2 separate regions of the Homo sapiens genome follow, and region 1 is linked to region 2. Evidence: promoter capture Hi-C in human tissues and cell types (Jung and others, 2019). All regions are on one chromosome and are shown on one strand. Each heading gives the region's core, a stretch centred on a gene start or on the middle of the fragment in contact. The rest is flanking DNA. Distances are from core to core; before and after follow the strand shown.

Region 1 (3,715 bases), core at 848-3,347, 120 kb after region 2:
CAGGGCTTCTCTGCTGTGTTTCCATCCACTGCTGCAGAGTCTTTTCTTCCTTCTCCACCAGAAATATGCAAACGTCAAGTGATCCTTTCTTTAGGCATCAAAACACACAGGATCCTCTTGGCTTTGGGAATATAAAAGAGTCATTCTTTTTCTCCTTAGGATGAAACTGATGGAGGATTACTTGCAATAAAGGGAATCCTGGACGGGACATGGTTCTGTTCCTGCTGGTTGGGAGGTCGTGACAACTATGTCTATGGACACATAGTCACAGGTTGTGTGTGGCTGGGCTATAGTTTAGGGACATCTGTCTAACCATCCATGTATTTAGTAATGACTTAGTGACTTCTGGTGTGTTGATGCAGGTTTTTCTTTCCCTCAATGTTTTAGATTTCATGAAGCATTAAAATTAATTCAACAATTATTTATATATTGAGTGACTATCTATGCCAGGCACTGGATAGGTAACAAGGAACAAAGCAGACAAAAGCCCTGTCCACATTTTTGAGTGGCAGAAGGTAAAGTATTTGAGGGATTAACCTAGAATTGCCAACTTTTCATTTTACTAAGTTAGGACTTAAGGAGAGAAGAGAAGCTGCTTTGACTGTCATTAGTATCAGTTTTCCCCTAGAAGAAAATGGTTATTTTCATGTCCAACAGAGTGGAAGTATATATTCTTATTTTTTTTAGTGGCTTAAAACAATAAACATTTATTATCTCACGCAGTTTTTGTGGGTCAGAAGCCTAGAAGCAGCTTCACTGAGTGGCTCTAGCTCAAGATCTCTCATGAAGTTGCAGTCAAGATCTCAGCTGAGGCTGCATTATCTGAAGGCTTGACTGAGGCTGGCAGAAGTGATTCCAGTATGGCTCAGCACACACCGAGCACGTTAGTGCTGATTGTTGGCAGGCAGCTTCAGTTTTTCAGCATGTGGGCCTCCTCACAGGGGTCCTTGAGTGCCCTCACAACAGGACAGCTGTCTTCTTCTGGAGCAAATTATCCAAAAAGAACAGATTTTTGAAATAACTATACTGAAACCACATCCCATACAGATTTAAATTATTGGGATTCAGCTACCCAAACAAAAATGCTCTGGGGTGGGAAGAGAATGCTTTATTTTATGTATGTGTGTATGTATGTATGTATGTATAGATAGATAGATTCTCACTCTGTCATCCAGGCTTGAGTGCAGTGGTGCAATCACAGCTCACTGCAGCCTCAACCTCCTGGGCTCAAGGGATCCTCCCACCTCAGCCTCCTGAGTAGCTGGGATTCCAGGCACACACCACTGCACCCAGCTAATTTTTGTATTTTTTTGTAGAGACAGGTTCTGCCATGTTGCTTAGGTTGGTCTCAAACTCCTGAGCTCAAGTGATCTTCCTGCCTTGGCCTCCCAAAGTGATGGGATTACAGGCTTGAGCCACCACACCCAGCCGCAAACGCTTTGAATAGTGTTGGCAATCTCCCTCATCTTTTTACTGATGTAAAGGGATCATGTCCCTCAATATTTGCTTTTTTTTCTTTTTTATGCTAATGAAACACTTACATTTAGCAGGACACATGGAATCCAGGATAGACTACATTTCCCAGTCTCCATTGCTGGTCTGACATTATCTTACATTGTGAGCATCACACTTTGCTGAGTGTTTAAAGGTATATATTATTCACACAACTTGGCTCCTAAACTCAAACCAACTTCTTCATCAAATGCTCAACTGATCATTCTCCCTTAACATTATATTTACATTTTTCCCCAAACAGAGAGAAATGGAAGGAACTGTGTAGTGAACACCCATATACCCACAACCTAGATTCTACCATTAACGTTGAACTCAACTGGCCTTATCTCATGTCGATTCCTTTATCCACCCCCTCTCCACTCATCAATTCATCTTATTTTTTGATGCATGTTAAAAGCAATTGTTGAGGTCAGTATACTTCACCCGTAACCCCTTCAGCATGCACATCACTCGCTAGAATCCAATACGTGTTTATGATTTTTTGAGATCAAATCTAGATACCGTGAAACACACAAGTCTAAAGTGGACCATTCAATAAGTTTTGACAAATTGTAATTCAAACTCCTACACTGATAGAACAAAGGTAATTTGAAGTAAATACACATTTTATTTTCTATGTGCTGACTTAGAAATGTCCCTGACCTGTAAGATGAGACTCCACTGTAAATTGAGCTTTACAAAAAAAAAAATCCCATCATATGTCTTATTTTGTTCCTCTTGCCTCAAACCATGGAAAAAAAGCATCAGACATTTATTTGGAAAAACTTTCTTGAAGCAGTGTTTAGGGTGATTAAAGGTATAATGTAGGAAGCATAGGTTTGAATCTGGCTGCCTGATCTCATACAATGTATGTATCCTGGCTATGCCTTAGTTTCCCTGTCTGCAAAATGGGGATAAAGATAGAACCTACGGCCAGCAAGGTGGCTCATGCCTATAATCCCAGCACTTTGAGAGGCAAGGTAGGAGGATCACTTGAGTTCAGGAGTTTGAGACCAGTCTGAGCAACAGCGTGAGGCCTCTTCTCTTTAAAAAATTAAAAAATTAGTGGGGAGTGGTGGTGCATGTCCATAAAGTTGTTCTTTTTTTTTTTTTTTTTTTTTTGAGATAGAGTCTCGCTCTGTTGCCCAGGGTGGAGTGCAGTGGTGTGATGTCAGCTCACTGCAACCTGCACCTCCCAGTTCAAGTGATTCTCCTGCCTCAGTCTCCTGAATAGCTGGGATTACAGGCGCACGCCACAATGCCTGGCTAATTTTTGTATATTTAGTAGAGATGGGGTTTCACCATGTTAGTCAGGCTGGTCTTGAACTCCCGGCCTCGTGATCTGCCCGCCTAGGCCTCCCAAAGTGCTGGGATTACGTGTGAGCCACCGCACCTGGCCCATAACGTTGTTCTTTGCCGGGAGGGCTGAATGAGTTAAATCAAGTGCCTAATTAGAACACTGCCTGTCCCCTAGTAAATGTTCAAGACAGCTGGCTCTCATCACCACAATGCTAGCAGGAGACCAGGAAGAGGGGGTCTTGTGTTTGACATGTTAACTTTGTAGACAACGGCTTTCTGCCCTCGGTAGCTTTATGTCCTACTCACATCTGAGTTTCTTTGGTCCCGTTGGCCCTCCAGGCAGAAATTTAATGACTGTCAAAATTCTCACCATGACATCACCAGACAATGTCAGCGGGAAGTCGGCGTCCATAAAATGACTCGAACTAGAAGAACTGGACCAGGTGGGGGATCGGGTTCTCAGTCTTTAATTGTGTTGGCTTTATAGTGTAAATCTCATGGCCTTGGAGTTAATATCGTACCAGTTTATTGGCACCAAATTGCATTACAGACTCATTAGCTCTCTCATGGCCCTTCATCTCTGCCACACCAAAGCTTTCCTTTGACTGATGTTGGTTTCATTATTCATGACTCTTATAGAGACAGTGGCCTCTAAAATAGAGACCAGGGAAGAGCATTTTTCTTTCTTTCTTTTCTTTTCATTTTTTTTTTTTCAGACAGAGTTTAACTCTCATTGACCAGGCTGGAGTGCAATGGCACAATCTCCACTCACTGCAACCTCTCCCTCCTGGGTTCAAGTGATTCTCCTGCCTCAGCATCCCAAGTGGCTGGGATTACAGACATGCACCACTGCATCCAGCTAATTTTGTATTTTTAGTAGATATGGGATTTCTCCAAGTTGGTCAGGCTGGTCTCAAACTCC
Region 2 (3,643 bases), core at 860-3,359:
AGTCTCCAACTCCTGGGCTCAAGCCATCCTCCTACCTCAGCCTTCTAAAGTGCTGGGATTATAGGCATGAGCCACTGCGTCCAGCCTTTTTTTTTTTTGAGACGGAGTCTCACTCTGTTGCTCAGGCTGGAGTGCAGTGGCACAATCTCGGCTCACTGCAAGCTCCGCTTCCTGGGTTCAAGCAATTCTCTGCCTCAGCCTCCTGAGTAGCTGGGGTTACAGGTGCCCACCACCATACACAGCTAATTTTTTGTATTTTTTTTAGTAGAGACAGGGTTTCACCATCTTGGCCAGGCTGGTCTCGAACTCCTGACCTTGCGATCCACCTGCCTTGGCCTCCCAAAGTGCTGGGATTACAGGCATGAGCCACCACACCCAGTCTCCAGCCTCCTTTTTTTTTTTTTTTAAATGACCTTGACAGTTTTGAGGAATACTAATCAGGTATTCTGTAGAATGCCCCTCAGTTGAATTTGTCTGATATTTTTCTTATGACCACAGAGGTAAAGTGCCCTTCTCATCCCATCGTAGGAAGGGTGCACACCATCCTCATGGCTTAATGTTGATGTTAACTTATTTACTTATTTACTTTTTTTTTTTGAGATGGAGTCTTACTCTGTTGCCCAGGCTGGAGTGCAGTAGTGCAATCTCGACTCACTGCAACCTCCGCCTCCTGGGTTCAAGAGATTCTCCTGCCTCAGCCTCCCTAGTAGCTGGGATTACAGGCGCCCGCCACCATGCCCAGCTAATTTTTTTGTATTTTTGGTAGAGACAGGGTTTCGCCATGTTGGCCAGGCTGGTCTCGAACTCCTGACCTCAAGTGATCCACCTGCCTCGGCCTCCCAAAGTGCTGGGATTACAGGTGTGAGCCACTGATCCCGGATGATGTTAACTTTGATCATCTGTCTGAGACAGTGTTTGTCAGGTATTATCTAATATAAAACCCACCCTCACCCTCTTCCACCACCACTTCCATACTGCACTCTTTTGGAAGGATGTCGCTATGGGCAACTCACACTTAAGGAGTAGGGAGCTAAGCTCCCCATCCTTAAAGTATCTACGTAAATGATTTCAAAATCTGCACAGGAGATTTCTCTCCATTTTCCCCATTTATTTATATTTAGCAATTACTTTTCTTTTTCTTTTTTTTTCTGAGATGGAGTCTCCTTCTGTCGCCCAGGCTGGAGTGCAGTGGCGTGATCTCGGCTCACTGCAACCTCTGCCTCCTGGGTTCCAGCGATTCTCCTGCCTCAGCCTCCCTGGTAGCTGGGACTACAGGCATGCACTACCATGCCAGGCTAATTTTGTATTTTTAGTAGAGACAGGGTTTCACCGTGTTGGCCAGGATAGTCTCGAACTCCTGACCTCAGGTGATCCTCCCGCCTCGGCCTCTCAAAGTGGTGAGATTACAGGTGTGAGCCACTGCGCCTGGCAATTTTATGTTTTTAACCTGCACACGAACAGAGGTAGAGATGAAACGAGGATATAGTGCAAAACGTAAAAGACAAACACTGCACGTGGTTTTCTCTTCACTCGGCCCTCTAGCTCCCCACCCAGAGCTACCACAGGTAGCCAGTTTTTTGCACCCTCTAGGGAGATAGCTTAGGCATTTACAAGCATGTACAAATATATTTTTTGGTTTCCTTTTTGTTCCCAAATGGTAACTTACTAGATGCACTGATTTGGAGTCTTGGGGTTTTTTGCGTGTGGACTTTTTATTTTTTAATTTTAAAGATGGGGGTCTCACTGTGTTGGCCAGGTTGGTCTCAAACTTGTGAGTTCGTGCGGTCCTCCAGCCTCGGACTCCCAAAATGCGAGGATTACAGACGTGAGCCACCACTCCCAACCAGTTATTTTTGTTATTTATTTCTTTATTAGATCAGGTTTGATTTTAGATGCAGGGGGTCCATGTGCATGTTTGTTACATGGGTGTACCGGGTCCTGGTGGAGACTGGGCTCCCAGTGCGCCCAATCTATTGTTATTTTTTAAGCTCAGTGAGACATCAGGGAGGTCGCTGCTTGTCGCCACCGCTGGATGGAGCCTTGCCGGATCTCCCGGGCTCTGCAGCCCCTCTGCGGTCCCTGATGCTCGGCTCCTCGCGGGGGCGCCCCACTCCGGCTTCTGTGATGTCAGCGCCGGAACCTGGAATCCCGGCTCCGCGAGGGAAGGCCGGGGAGGCGGCGGCGGCGGCGGCGGCTGGAGAGGGTCCTCGGCAGCCTCTGAGGAGCGCGGGGCGCGGCCATGAGCGAGTCCAGCGGCAGTGCGCTCCAGCCCGGCAGGCCCAGCCGGCAGCCGGCGGTCCATCCAGGTAGGGCGGCAGGGAGCGCGCGCGGGGACGGTGCCCCTGGGGTCCGAGGGCGCACGGAGGGAGCCGGGTGCTGGAGGCTCGGCCTGGCCGCTGTTCCCTCCCACCCCCGACGCCGGGTGCTCCCGGCTCTGGGGAACAGCAGGTGGGAAGGAGATCTTCCTTATTCCTGCTCCCTCCACAAACGCGTCCTCATCCAATCCAGTGGAACCCAGCCGGGCCAAAAGGACACGAGAACTGCAGTCTGGACCGTGGTGGGTTTGTCTTCCAGCTGTTGACCGAGACAGTCTTTCAATAGCCTCATCTGCTGTTAAATGAAAGGATTTGAGCACCCCCTCCACGCCTAACATTCTGGTATGAGGTGCCTGCCTCCCGGACATTTCAGCCTTCACATACAGTTAGACCAACTTGAAACCGAATTCTGCCTTGTCTGTTTATTGCTGTGGGACCTTTGGTAAGTGGCTTGCCTTCTCTGAGCCTCAGATCCTTCAGCAGTAAAATGGGAATAGAATGGGGCGGGGATTAGCTGAGAATCGTGTGATGTGTCTAGCACAGTGCCTGGCATTGTGGCTAGACAGTCACAATAAATGGTAGCCAGCCAAGTATTATAATCTTTTGTATCGGGTAGAATTACAGTAAAGTATACAGCTCCATGAATTTCTACAGAAATATGTACAACGGCTGCCCAGTCAGGATAAAAAAGTTGCCAGCACTCAGGCAGGGTTCCTTGTAGCATTTGGAGCTTACGAATCTTGTCCTGAACAAAACACAAGACCCTGCTGTAAAGTTTTATCTGCAATGTTTTCTCTTTTTCAGTTTTAGAATAGAGATTTACTGAAACCAAGGATGTAGGGCCGGGCGTGGTGGCTCACGCCTGTAATCCCAGCACTTTGGGAGGCTGAGGCGGGTGGATCACGAGGTCAGGAGTTCAAGACCAGCCTGGCCAAGATGGTGAAACCCCATCTCTACTGAAGATACAAAAATTAGCCAGGAGTGGTGGTGGGTGCTTGTAATCCCAGCTACTTGGGAGGCTGAGGCAGAGAATAGCTTGAACCCGGGAGGCGGAGGTTGCAGTGAGCCGAGATTGCGCCACTGCACTCCAGCCTGGGCGACAGACCAAGACTGTTTCAAAAAAAAAAAAAGAAACCAAGGATATAGAATAAAACATGAGTGTAGATTTGGTCATTGAGGCCTTCAAATTGGATTGTTCCCAATGTCCAGAAGAAAAAAAAAATTTAGAAGAGACCCAAATCAGAAAACAAAAGTTGGGGTGGATTCAATGCGAATTATTTTCTAGCTCAATATTAATACTGCTTATGTCAGCTGAATTTCAGCCTTTC

Evidence for each region. Contacts are between HindIII fragments. The study calls those that stand out against the background at their distance.
Region 1: a contact is called between a fragment that was not itself captured here and the fragment with the promoter of TMC7 in region 2, in 2 of the 25 tissues and cell types used here (heart left ventricle and small bowel).

What each region holds. Positions count from the first base shown.
Region 1 is chr16:19,099,402-19,103,116 of GRCh38, forward strand. No RefSeq gene overlaps it. Among named protein-coding and RNA genes, the nearest start is that of ITPRIPL2, 13 kb to the right of the region's middle. The HindIII fragment of the contact is 4,773 bases long and covers 1-3,715 here.
Region 2 is chr16:18,981,825-18,985,467 of GRCh38, forward strand. TMC7 (transmembrane channel like 7) reads left to right here and starts at 2,110. Exons shown (of 16, transcript NM_024847.4): 1 at 2,110-2,306. The coding sequence starts at 2,240. RefSeq lists a silencer at 2,021-2,080. The HindIII fragment of the contact is 36,131 bases long and covers 1-3,643 here.